Linked DNA regions of Homo sapiens: regions 2 and 3 are each linked to region 1. Evidence: promoter capture Hi-C in 16 types of primary human blood cells and fetal thymus (Javierre and others, 2016). All regions are on one chromosome and are shown on one strand. The core of a region is centred on a gene start or on the middle of the fragment in contact, and the rest is flanking DNA. Distances in the headings are between cores, read along the strand shown.

What was found. The method cuts DNA at HindIII sites, captures the fragments that hold promoters and counts their contacts. A CHiCAGO score of 5 or more calls a contact.
Region 2: a contact is called between a fragment that was not itself captured here and the fragment with the promoter of MESD in region 1, in 1 of 17 cell types (M2 macrophages). The highest score is 5.7, in M2 macrophages.
Region 3: a fragment that was not itself captured here is called in contact with the fragment with the promoter of MESD in region 1 in 2 of 17 cell types (M1 macrophages and M2 macrophages); the score reaches 7.1 in M1 macrophages.

What each region holds. Positions count from the first base shown.
Region 1 is chr15:80,987,126-80,991,566 of GRCh38, reverse strand. MESD (mesoderm development LRP chaperone) reads left to right here and starts at 1,748. Exons shown (of 3, transcript NM_015154.3): 1 at 1,748-1,988. The coding sequence starts at 1,776. RefSeq lists a silencer at 1,475-1,754 and enhancers at 1,505-1,799, 1,439-2,052, 1,785-2,064, 2,053-2,667. The HindIII fragment of the contact is 12,917 bases long and covers 1,118-4,441 here.
Region 2 is chr15:80,431,025-80,435,465 of GRCh38, reverse strand. The region is part of intron 1 of ARNT2 (aryl hydrocarbon receptor nuclear translocator 2); the gene reads right to left. Among named protein-coding and RNA genes, the nearest start is that of ARNT2, 29 kb to the right of the region's middle. RefSeq lists an enhancer at 1-298. The HindIII fragment of the contact is 7,588 bases long and covers 1-4,441 here.
Region 3 is chr15:80,471,088-80,475,528 of GRCh38, reverse strand. ARNT2 (aryl hydrocarbon receptor nuclear translocator 2) reads right to left here. Exons shown (of 19, transcript NM_014862.4): 5 at 306-519. Among named protein-coding and RNA genes, the nearest start is that of ARNT2, 69 kb to the right of the region's middle. The HindIII fragment of the contact is 2,811 bases long and covers 696-3,506 here.

The DNA.
Region 1 (4,441 bases), core at 499-2,998:
TTTCTGCTCAACGTCAATAGGAAAGGTCATAGCTTAGCGTGTTTACATACAGATGCATGCATGAATATGTAGAATATCAGCCACTCCTACGGTGTGAGAGAATTTAAATTGCACTGGTCCTAAGAGTGAAGGAAAGCAGGCGTAGTTGCCTACTCAACCTCCACTTTATTCTTTTCCCTTTATAACAATCCTAATTTCATTTGAGATGACAATGTATACAGCTAGAAGACAATTTCTCAGCCTCCCTTGGAGAGCTAGGTTCCAGCCAATGAGATGTAAACAGAAATGTATGCAATGTTCAAGTAGGCTGCTTAAAAGAAGTTGACTCCACTTGAAAGGTGTGCTTGGTTTGGCCTGCCTTCTCCCTTCCTCTGGTTGAATGTCATCTTGATGACTGGAGCTCCAGGAGCCATCCTGGAATTTCTGACCTTGAGGGTGGAAGCCACAGGCTAATATGATAGAAGGATGAGGAAGAGGCTGAGTACCAGATGGCTGAGAAGCCACTATACCAGCCCTAGTTTCGAGTTTACACTGCTTCTGTGAAAGAAAAGTCAATCACAATAAAACCTTTTATCTTGTTTAAACCACCTTAAAAAGTCAGTTTTCTTTTATATGCAGCCTACTAATCCTATCCAAACAAGGCTTGAATAAGGTTTACTACAGCTCTTTTTTGTTGTAATAGCAGAAAAATTGGTAATAAATGCCCATCAATAGGAAAATAAACTATTAATTTAACAATACCAAATAAAACTGTGCAGCAGTATAAAGAATGAAGCGTTTTTTGTTGTTGTTTTTGAGATGCGGGTCTTGCTTTATTGCCCAGTCTGGTCTCAAACTCCTAAACTCAAATTATCGTCCTACCTCAGCCTCCCAAAGTGCTGGGATTATAAAGGCTTAAGCCACCGTGCGGCCTTTGGTTTTTTTTGTTTTTTGTTTTTTAAGGTCTTATGTAATTAAACATTTTAAAGACATCAGCTGATGAGCCGTTTAAAACAAGAAGAATCTCAAAGCATCTTTGGCCAAAATCTTTTTAAGAAACAAAAAGTAGCGTGATTCAGCCTTGAAAAGGATTAGTTAGAGCCTACAGTATTAGGTTGAAATCAAAGAAAGGCAAGCTTTTTTTTTTTTGGATGAATAGTAATGATCTTTTTGGAAAAAAAAAACAAATATTGAAAGCTGGTTGAACTGAATCCTCTTTATTGATGAGGAAAGCAGTGGACTCGAACTATTTATGACTTTCTGAAAAAAGTTGCCCTACCTGCCACTCACTTCTTTTTAACTGGCTGTTCTCAAAGGAAATTGCAAGAGACTGAGGATAAACGTCCGACATCCAGAAATGGGCTTTTTTAGAGCCGAGGCAGCCTCCAGAACTTCCAGTTCCAATTTATTTCACAGGCGAGAAACTGAGGTCAACAGGGACGTTGGTTAGTGGTTCCTGGAGGCCCTGAAGGAACTTTTGGACCTGGCTTGTGCGTTCCAGAGAAAAAGGTCGGCCTCTGACGGAAAACGAAAAATGAGCACTCAGGGACCCACCCAGCCGGGACAGAGCGCCTCAGCCGGACCAAGAGGAGGAGCCAGTGGGGCGGGGCCAAAATGGCGGAGGGGCGGGGCTTCCAGAGGCGGGGGTTAGGAAATGGTACGGGGCGGGGCCCGGTAGGCTAGCGAGGGCCGGGAGGCGGGGCCTCGGAAAGGCGGACAGGAAGGCGTGTGCAAGGCGGGGTCCGGCCCGCGCAGGTCGGGTAAGCGCGTCTAGGGCGCTGCGCGGCGCAGCGAAAATGGCGGCTTCCAGGTGGGCGCGCAAGGCCGTGGTCCTGCTTTGTGCCTCTGACCTGCTGCTGCTGCTGCTACTGCTACCACCGCCTGGGTCCTGCGCGGCCGAAGGCTCGCCCGGGACGCCCGACGAGTCTACCCCACCTCCCCGGAAGAAGAAGAAGGATATTCGCGATTACAATGATGCAGACATGGCGCGTCTTCTGGAGCAATGGGAGGTCCGCGGCGCGCGCACACCCTCCCGGCTCTTCTCTGTGCGGGACCCTGTTCCCTATGACCCCTTACCTGTTCTGTCTTGGGACCTTTCTGACCCCCTAACCTCCTCTACTCATGCCTTGAATCCTTACTGACCCACTGAAGCCACTGTTGACCCTCCATTCCTCCTCTGACCCGCGCGCCCTGCTGACCCTCGCTCCAGCCCTCTGTCATTCCAGTGCCCTGTTCCTCCTGCCATTTCTCAAACCACTTCAATCACGGATCTGCCCCTCACTGTTCAGCTTTGCTCTCCCTTCACCCTTCAGTGCCCTGGTTGTCTTTGCGTTGATTCTTGTGGTCAGTGAGCCCTGCAAACAGGGAGAGTGACCTTTCCCAATCTACTAAAGAGCATTTCCTTCTGTTTTGCGGTGAGTGGGTGGGAGAGTGGGTTGCAGTGAAGATGGTCTTCCTTAATGGTTATCTCAGCTGTCTTCTAAATCAGTATAATTTTAGACTTCCTATTTTGGTATATGTCCCTGCTGGGAATTTTGTGCTTTTTGTGGGTGGATTTATTTTACTGAGGGGAGAAGTATCAATGGCTAATGGCTCTGTATCGTGAAACTCACGCTTTTTGTTCAAAGGAGAGTAAGTTTTCTGGTTTGTCACTTGGACGCACCGGAGTGTGCAGTTACAGGGAGTGTGTAATACGCTTTAAGGTAAAGATTACTGGCCAAAACCACATTGCTGCCTTTTCCCCTTCCTAAGGTGATTGTATCGTCCTGGTTGACTTGCATAGCTGTGGAACCTTGGGCAGGTTATGTCTAGTTTCTAGGCCTCGGTTTCTTTATCTGCAACATGAGGAGGTTAGGATGGGTCCTAAGATTCCTTCCAACACTGATGTTTTGTTATTTTGTGATTATCTCTGTGTGTGTTACGGGAGAAGGGAAAGACTTTCAGACAAGAGTTTAAAATACCACCTGATGCATCTGACTAGAAGAATGCAGGCTTGTGTTTTCATGTGGTCATCAACAGCTGATGGAAAGATTGGGATAGATTTGAGTGTAGAGAGAACGTCCCCATTCACCGTCTCCCTTGCAATCTCCTTGTCTCTTTTTGGACTCCAGCAAATAAAGCCTTTTGATCTGCCAGAGTGAGAACATCACCTCATGAGAAATCCTCCCCTTGACCTACTCAGACCCTGAGCTAGACGAAGAGGGTGCTGAAGAGATGAACAAAGATTGCACTGGGAACAGTAGATAACAGGATGGATGAGTGGGGAGAGACTTTGAAGGCCAAGAAAAACACATTATCTCATTTAATCCTTTTACCCCATCCATGAGGGAGGTACTTATCCCTATTTTCTAGATGATGACATTGAGACACAAAGAGGTTAAATAACTTGCTCCACATCGCACAGCAAGCTAGCTGAGTTTCAAATTCTTTCGCGACTTTTAGAGCCAGTTCTTTGAACTGTTTTACCTGTACTGCCACACATGTTGGTGACAGAAGTGCAAATGAAGGATAGTGAGGAAGACGTGGATTAAGCTAGAAACTGCAGGAGCAGAGTAGAAGGGAGAAATGTGAGATTTTTATACTTTTAACAGGACTTGATGGTTGATTTTGTTTTTTAAATTATTTTTTATAGAGACAGGGTCTCCTTATGTTGGCTGGGCTGGTTTTGAACTCTTGGCCTTTGCAGTCCTCCCACCTTGGCTTCCCAAAGTGTTGGGATTACGGGCGTGAGCCACCATGCCTGGGCAATTGATTGATTTTGTGAATAGCAGGGCCACATAATGTAGTAAAAAGACAGGTTGGCTGGGCGCAGTGGCTCACGCCTGTAATCCCAACACTTTGGGAGGCAAAGGCGGGTGCATCACCTGAGGTCAGGAGTTCAAGACCAGCCTGGCCAACATGGTGAAACTCCATCTCTACTAAAAATAAAAAAATTAGTTGGGCATGGTGGCGGGCACCTGTAATCCCAGCTACTTGGGAGGCTGAGGCACAAGAATCGCTTGAACCAGGGAGGTGGAGGTTGCAGTGAGCCAAGATCATGCCACTGCACTCCAGCCTGGGCGACAGGGTGAGACTCTGTCTCAAAAAAAAAAAAAAAGACAGATTTTGAACTCAGCTTTACCCCTCACTAGCTACTTCATCCTAGTTTTACGTATCTGTAAAGCCAGATAACGCCCTACTTTGCAGGGTGCCATGCGGATTAAATGAGTTAATGTTTGTAGACGCTCTACAGACATGAGGACTCTTCCCCAGTAGCAGTGTTTTTTATGTGGGAGAGCGTATCCATCTCTGTGGGTGCTTTTTTTGTAGGAAGCAGTTCTTCTCCTCTTGTGACCATCTCTAAATCCATACCCTCACTCCTTCCCCAGCAGTGTGAGAAACAGTGCTTCAGTGAGAGGCTGTGCCTCAGAGGTGTGGAGAGGTGAGAATTCCTTCCATTGTGTTACAACTAATTCTGAGTCCC
Region 2 (4,441 bases), core at 1,150-3,649, 560 kb after region 1:
AGCCAGTTCAAAGGCCCATGCAGCCTCCGCTCAGCAGCAACGGACCTTGCTGCTTCTGAAGCAGGGACTGACCCAATAACGGCTCTTCTCAGGAGGAAGTTACTATGCCCGCAATCCTGGAGGCTCAGGGTTCTTCAAAAGTGAGAACCAAAACTTAAAGGGAAGGGTACTCTGTACTGCCAGCCTCCATCACTCCAAGAGGGAAAGAGAACCTCGGGCAGAGCTGGCACCTATGGAGGAGGCAATGGGGTGTCCTGGCTGAGAAAAGGACGAGGGCAGGCAGAGGGCAGGAGGTGTGTGGCCAGGTGGCCCGATGGCAGTGCTGGCTGTTGGCTGTATCTGCAGACACTAAGGGATTGGGGAGCTCCCTGGAAACTGGGCTTCAGTGAGCGTGGAGAGTGGTACAGGCGACAACCGGTAGGAGGGGAGAGTGACCCCAGACATCCCAGTGGTTTACCCGCAGGTAAGGATCCAGGTGCTGCCTCTCAGGAGCAGGAGTTGGAAAACATAAAAGGAGAAGGTGGCCTCAAACAGCTCCCCTGTTGTATCCATCTCCCACCCACCCTGCGCCCAGGACCTCAGAAAGATTCAGGAAAAACTTCCATGAAAGTACCACTTCTTACCTATCTTAACCCGAGCTCCTGGCTTTATCTTTATTTCAATCTATTATCCTGCTCCTGGACATCCCCTCTCCTTTTCCTTCTCTCTTCCACTCCCCGTTCCCTGCCTCTCCTCTGCTCCCCACTCCCTCTCCCGGTCTACCTGTCCCCTCTCTTCCTCCACTCACTTGCCGATTTTCTCTTGATCTCTCACTGCATCCCTTGCTCTCTGTCCCCACTCCTTTGACCCCTCTGGGCATCTCTGAGTCCTACTAATGCTCTGCCTCCCCGACAAAAAGCACAGATGAGCTCACACTCACACCTTCACACAAATGCTTTCTTTCCTAGGTCTCTCTTCTCTGGCTTTGTCACTCTGGACTTTGCTTCCGGCTTCAAGTTTCTAGGTGTAATATGTGAAGATTAATGGCAATGAAGCAAACGTGCATAAGAAAATCCACGCAGCAAAGGCAATTCCGTTATTCTCAAGTCCATAGATGCCCAGTGTGACATTGTGAACTGGAGAAAAAGGAGCACTTCCTGTTCAGGAAATCTTGTAAAATCATAAATGTCAGGACTCAGTCAACAATACCCCAAAATGAAGGCCTCAGAAGCATCCTCAGAGGAAAAATTTATTTCTCTGATCTTCTCTTGCCCTCCTGTCTCTTAGCGCCATTCTCCCCTGAGGCTAGACACAGACACTAGAATCCCTCTGCCCCAGGGCAGGGCATGGAAGCCAGAAGCCTTTTTCCCCAAAGCCAGCCATAAAACTTAAAGATGTCACTCTAACTTTCCCTCTGCCTTTCTGTGTGAAAACTGGCCATAAAGAAACTATCTGCCCTACCTTGTTTGACTGAAGGTCATAAGACCCTCATTCCAGAGAGGGTCCTGCCTCATACTCAGAAGGAAGGAATGCACGTTCAGCAAGGCCAAGAAGAATCTAAACAGACAGGCCTTGCTGAGTTTCCCCACTCAGCCGATTGACATTGGATCATGCCCTTTTCGTCTAATCCTATATCTACACGGCTGTCCATACTTTGTTGAACATAAGCATAAAAATGGTCAGTTTCCTCTGTATCTTTGGGTCATTCTGAAGGTTCTCATGTACACATTAATAAAATTTATACCCATTTTCTCCAATTAACCTGCCTTTTGTGAGTTGATTTTTCAGCAAACCTTCAGAAAATGAAGAGGCTTTCCCTTTGCCCCTCCAGTAACAAAATGGTATCTCATTCTCTAAATACAATTATTTCTATAAAATGCCTTTTCTAGGCTGGGTGTGGTGGCTCACGCCTGTAATTCCAGCACTTTGGGAGGCCGAGGCGGGGGGAGGTGGTGGGTGGATCACTTGAGGCCAGCAGTTCAAGTCCAGTCTGGACAACATGGTGAAACCTCGTCTCTACTAAAAATACAAAAATTAGCCGGGCGTGGTGGTGTGCACCTGTAGACCCAGCTACTCGAGAGGCTGAGGCAGGAGAATCACTTGAACCTGGGAGGCAGAGGTTGCAGTGAGCCGAGATCGCACCACTGCACTCCAGCCTGGGCAACAGAGCAAGACTCGGTCTCAAAAAATAAAATAAAATAAAATAAAATAAAATAAAATAAAATAAAATAAAATAAAATAAAATAAAATAAATAAAATATAGTGCCTTTTCTAAAAAGGAAAAAAAATGTGGGCATACCCGCTGTTTACACAACAAATTGATTAAGGAACTCACATATCCTTCCACAGATCTAAAATCCCCTTTAAGAGGTTTTATGAAACAAAGTAGTTTCCTTGTTGAATATATTCCTTGATGAATATATTCATCCATCATTCACCAAAAAAACATTTTGTGTTAAATTTTAAACTGTGAATTACTCTACAAATATAAAATATATGCAAAACAGTAAAAATGTTTACACACAAGGCATTAAAATCTGTTTTCTTTTCAAAGCAGTTAAGGTGTTATTTTTATGCTATTTGGTACTATAAACCAAATGGGATGCTCCTCGATGTCTTAATTTATGCTTGGGACTCCAATACTTGAAGATAGGGGAGCATGAGCTTCTGGAGGAGAAAAAGGCTGTGGGATTTCCTAGCACAGGAGGCTGAGCTGTGATGGTGAGACCATACCTTCTGGTTATAGAGGAGGACAAGCTCTCTGTTCATGGGAACATTGTTGTGTCTCTCAGAGGCCTCAGCCCAAGCAGAAGATCCATCTCCACCTGCACCACCTAAGCCACAGGTTGGCAAACTTTTTCTGGGAAGGATCAGAAAGTAAATATTTCAGGCTTTGAAGGCCATAAGGTCTCTGTGGCAACTACTCAACGCTGCAGTTATGGTACAAAAGCAACCGTAGACACAGTCTATAAATGAGTGGGGGTGGTTGTGTTTCAATGCATGAGCACTGAGATTTGAATTTCAAATAATTTCCACATGTCATGGAATATTCTTTTGGTGTTTTTTTTCCATCAATTTAAAAATGTAAAAATTATTCTCAGCTCATGGCCCATACAAAAACAGGAGGCAGGGCAGATGCAGCCCATTGGCCATAATTTGCCAACCTCTGATCTAAGCATCAGGTCCCAGAAAATTCAAGAAGAGGCGAGAAATCTTCTACCTCTAATTCAGCTGACCTGATGGCAAGACACTGCCGTTCCCCCCGTGCCCCAGAGACGCAGGTGAAGGGCTGGTGCGGGTGCACTATTTCATCAAAGTCCACACCCTCCAGGGAGCAGTAGTTGAATGGGAAACAGATGCTGCATTTTTACCTATTGACAGTAGGCCCTTAATCTTTGCAGCTGAGCTTTCAGGAGACAGCAGCATCAATTCTCCGTGGAGAAAAACTTTCACAAGGATCATGGTCAGTTCCATTGGGCCATTTAGGCTGACATACCTGAGCTTGTCCTGGAGGAAAAGGAGGAGCGGCCCTGGGCAGCGACCCCAGAATGGCCGGTTGCTTCAGAGAGCTACTTCAGCTGAGAGCTACTTCAGCTGCTCAGCCCCCTGCTGGGTGCTCTCCACCAGGAGGTCCTGAGAGAGGGCTTCGGCCACCAGGGGGTCTTTGAGGAAGCACTGGAGGAACAAAGCCCACCCTCAGCACCAAAAGGGAGAGAGCTGGTAGGCCAGTGTCCCCTAATGAGGATCCCTGCTGGATAAGTAGGGACAACAACCGGTAGCCTGGAAAAACAGCCAGACAGGAGGCAGAGACAGGGGCCTGCCCAGGAGGTCCAAGGGAAGAACAGACAATCACGAGAGGAAGGTGGGCCTGTCTGTAAGGACCCCTATTCCAGCCGCTTCAGACTATCTTCCGGCCCACTCCCCTACTACGGCCCATCCGGGAATGGCTTCGGGACTTGGAGACAGGACAGGCTCAAAGGGAGCCAGGGAGCCCTCTGTGCCCTCTTCAGGACCCTGAAGGGAAGCCTCATTGTTACTGGGAAAGGAGCAAAAGGGATTTCAGAGGGAAGTGGTTGGCAGGAGCAAGGTCAGGAAAGGACCTGTGCTGTGGAATGGGAGGGGGTGGATCTGATCTGGCCATAACCTGGGCATGGCAAGAACGATGATTACAAATGCTCTATATCCCACTGCCACGGTCCCAGTGATACCCCTGCACAGAAGAGCACCAGGCCCTCGAGAAGAACATGCAGAGAGGACAGAGGGGGCGTGCTGTTCACAAGGCCCAAGGCTGTGGCCTCCCGAAGAAAATGTAAGGTTCAGGATTCTGGTTTTGTTTTTGTCTTTATTTTGAGGGAATGGGGTGGTGGTGGCAGGTGGCTTCAGGGGTACATGTAAGTACCTGAGCGGTGTCCATTGCTTTGTGGGGGGATCGTGACATTGGATTCCAGGAAGGATATAAATG
Region 3 (4,441 bases), core at 852-3,351, 520 kb after region 1:
GAGTGTAGTGGCACAATCTTGGCTCACTGCAAGCTCTGCCTCCCAGGTTCATGCCATTCTCCCACCTCAGCCTCCGGAGTAGCTGGGACCACAGGCGCCCACCACCACGCCTGGCAAATTTTTTGTTTTTGTATTTTTTGTAGAGACGGGGTTTCACCATGTTAGCCAGGATGGTCTTGATCTCCTGACCTCGTGATCCACCCGCCTCAGCCTCCCAAAGTACTGGGATTACAGGCGTGAGCCACCATGCCCAGCCAAGAATGTTTTCTAGAGTCAAACAGCCTCATAAAGGGAGCTCCACTGACCTGTCATTGAGTTTTCTGAGGTGCACAGTTGCTCTCTCAGCTTCTCCACGTCATCAGGATGCACCTGTTCATACAGTGTGCTCCCAAACCACTCTGACTGGGGCTGGTTCAGAACAGGGGTGACGGAGTCAGACACATAAATCACTCGCCCTGTCTCAGCAGCCACCACAAACAGAAATCCATCAGCTGCTTCAAGGATGAGATGCTTCAGTTCCTATAAAGAAAAGATTATGATTGGCACAATACACTGACAGACCCAGGATGATTCAACTTTCTTATTGGGAAAGCAGCCTTCAATTTCCTTTATCTGCATATTTATTCTGGTACACAAATAGTTTGGGAAATGAGAACTTTGTTTCTGGAAAATAAGCTAGAAAAATGCACAAAGCTTGCACCATCCCTACGATACAGCTACTGTAAACACGGTTAGCCCATCTTCATTAGTCCTTTGTTGGGGAGAGAAAATTTCCAGCCTAGGGGGATGGGAGAGCAATGAGTGATCACCAGAAGGTACTGGGTTGCCAGAGGCGTGAACAGCTTTGCCACATATTGAAACTGTAGTCATGTCATTGGAGCAGAAGGGCCCAACACATAGTGCTTGGCACAAAAGGTGCTAGATAGAAGGAAGGGAAGGGGAAGGGGAAGGTGAGAAGGGAGAACGAAAGAGACCACGTGTCTCCCCACCCACAGCTTGCCGTACTGAAAGTACCCTCTTGTTCCTTTTCTCTTTCCATATTTCTGAGCTGAATGCTGGCACTGGCTATAAGAGTATCCCCTTACATTTGCATTTCTGTCAGATTTCCAGAACTGACAATAATCACCATCATCTCAAAAGACTCTCAGAGTAACTCTGGGAGGCAGCAGGGAATACAGCATTATCCATATCACTTTACAGTGAGAAGAGGATAGGAGCATCAACCTTCAGCTCACATTGATTCATTGGGGTCATGACTGTCATTGAAGGCAGGGAGGAAACTGGGATCAAGGAAGGGGCAGCAGGAAGCCTTGATATTATCCTCAGAAGGACGTGGATGGGGCAAAATTAACTTTGTTAAAACAAGATGTCTTTTCTTTGCAGCGCCTGAAGGCAGCTCAAGTATAGTTGCCCATACTATTCTCACATCAAGCTAAGGAGCCCTTTGCCACTGAATGAAATGGGCTTTGTGCCTGCAGGAGCCAGGCACTAAGTCTTCCCTAGACACTGTAATCCATGGCCACCCTTCCAACCACTTCAAGTACTGTTCAGGCTCCAGAGGACAAAGGTATCCTTCTAGGTCAGCAGCTAGCAAACATCTTTTGGCTGGCAATCTTTTGTTTGAATGTAATCTTATGTGAAAACCCCACTGTAAAGCACATGGACAGCCAGCAGAGTGAAGGCAAAAGGTGGAGAGTCTGGCGCCCCAAATCCCAGTAACTGAGCAGGGTACAAGGACCCAGAGACTAGGGAACATTGATATGCTGATGAGCAGAACCCAGGGAGCTTTGTAAATGTGTCTAAGCCCTTGGCTGGGGAGGAATTCTAACATCCTCTGCCTGGGAAACCAGGGCAGAAGCAGTTGGTACAAGCATTTTTTAAGGATAAGTTTATTTTGCCCATTTCTCTTGCTTTGCACTTTTGCTGTTCTGCGTCACCTAGATGCTTAATTAGTTCAGGGAATTCGGTCAGCATTTTTATTTTCAGTTTTTGGATGATCTTCCCAACAGAAAGAGCTGTTAAGAGAATTAAAAACGGAAGAGGGTGCCTGGGGAAGTACAGAATTCTTTGTCACTGGAGGAGAGGAAGTGGAGACTGAATGACTTTACTCATGAATTCACATTTTTGTCCAGTTTGCAAAGACTGTGGGGAGGTCTTATGGGATGAAGCCCTGCTCGCATCACGGACCCTCTTTTTTCCACCCTCCTCCCTGATGTGTATTCCCTGGGAGACCATCTATCACTACCAAGTTCCTGTGCCCTGATCCAGAACCAGCCTCTACACTCCAAGAAAACAGTCACGGTTAAGAGCATGTATTCTGGAGTAAAAGGAGACTATCACCTACCGCTCTCCCACTTAGCTGTGCAACTTTGGGCATGTTACTTCACGCCCTCAGCAATGTTTTTCAGTGAGCTCTTGCAAGGTTAAATGAGATGCTGTGTGTGAGGACTTAGTAAGGGCCTGGCACACAGTAGGTGCTCCATAAATGTAACCATTATCATCACCATCCAAGCAGCTGAGAGAGGAACAAAGGTAGGGCTCATCTGACCTGCATAGCTGCCTTCTCTCTTCACGCCACTTTCATAATCCTCAGTCACTTAAAGATAACGAGATTCATTTCAAACCTTGACTCTGTAGGTCTTTTGGTGAGGATTAAAAAAATATAGACAAAAAACTGATTCTAGCAGCCAGTAGTGCTCAATAATTTCTGTCTGTTACTTACCAGCTATTTACCCTTCATTATACCTCAGGCCCATGTTAAACAGTCTATGCTTGTTGCCTTCCTCACCACAACCACACGAGCTGGGAGCTATCACTGCATTTATTTTTACAGAGGTGGAAATGAGGCTTGAAGCTCCTGCCCTGACCACCACAGTTTGTGTCCTCCAAGTGGCACATATTACCACTGCTGGACCTTCCTAACATCTGCCAAGCGAGGGCTCCCATGACCACTGGGATGATTTAGAAAGGGATCAAATAGGTGAAGTGCTTGCTAAAGTGTCTGCCACAGAACAGACAGTAATAAACGTTAGTTCCTCATCCCTTATTCTTTTTAAACCTAACTTCCATGACATAAATCGAGTCTCGGCTCTAGCAGAATAAATCATTAGGTCTCCCAACAAAATCTTTTTCATTCCTGCCTGTGAGGTTCTGTACACACTCTTCCCTTTTTGTGAAATCCCTTCTGCTCCCCTCTTTCTAGGTATTTTTTGTGGCTCCTTTCTATGCCAATACTGTCTCTGTCCTGAGAAGTCCCTCTTGATAATACCAGGACACTTCCACTCTATTTCAGCTTGGCCACACGCTGTGTCTTGTTAAATCCTCCATTACTTTTAGGACCCTATACCCTACATACTTTTGCATTTCCTAACTGCATGCCCTGACAACTGTATTATTTCACCTCCCCACCCCAATGCCCCCCCACCGGCTATACACAATGAAGTGCTTTCAAATCCATCACCTCATTTATCCTGCAAAAGCTCTTGGAGACAGGAAAGCAAAAAGCTTTATGTTCATTTCACAGATGAGCACACTGAAGCTTAGAGTATTTGCCAACTTGCCCTATGACCAGCACATGGAAATACAAAGACCCTGAACACAGGCCTCTGGCTCATGTAAAGCCACTTATAAAATACGACCTCACTAGCCATTTTGTGCGTTTCTTCTTGCCAACTAGTCAAAGACTAGTGTAGGTGTTAAAAATATGGCTTTGGGGTCCTACCAGCCTGTCTTCACTGGACCCAATCTTGGCTCCTCCACTAAGCAGCAGATTAACCCTGAGCAATCTGCTGACTCTAAGCCTCAGCTTCCTCATCAATAAAACAGAGCTAAATAACAGTGGCTTCTTCACAGGGCTAGAATAAGTAGTAAATGAGATATTTCACAGAAAACTATGACTCACACCAGGCACCCAGCAAATGCCGGCCGGCTAAGTGCTCTGATCGCGGCTACTATTATCACTACTGCTGCCATCACTGTCTTTTTTCTTTAACTTTTTTCAGGGGTACACATGCAGGTTTGTTACGTACTGCCAAGGGAGTAAACTCATGTCACGAAAATTTGTTATACAAATTATTTCATCACCCAGATCCTAAGCCCAGTACCCATTAGTTATTTTTTCTGATCCTCTCCCTCCTCCCAACCTCCATCCTCTAGGAGGCTCCAATGTCTGTTGTTCCCCTCTTTGTGTCCATGTGTTCTCATCATTCAGCCCCCACTTACAAGTGGGAACATGTGGTATTTGGTTTTCTGTTCCTGCATTAGTTTGCTAAGGATAGTGGCCTCCAGCTCCATCCATGTTCCTGCAAAGGACATGATCTCATTCTTTTATATGGCTGTGTAGTATTCTATGGTGTATATGTACCACATTATCTTTATCCAATCTGTCATTGATGAACATTTATGTTGAGTCCATGTCTTTGCTATTGTGAATAGTGCTGCA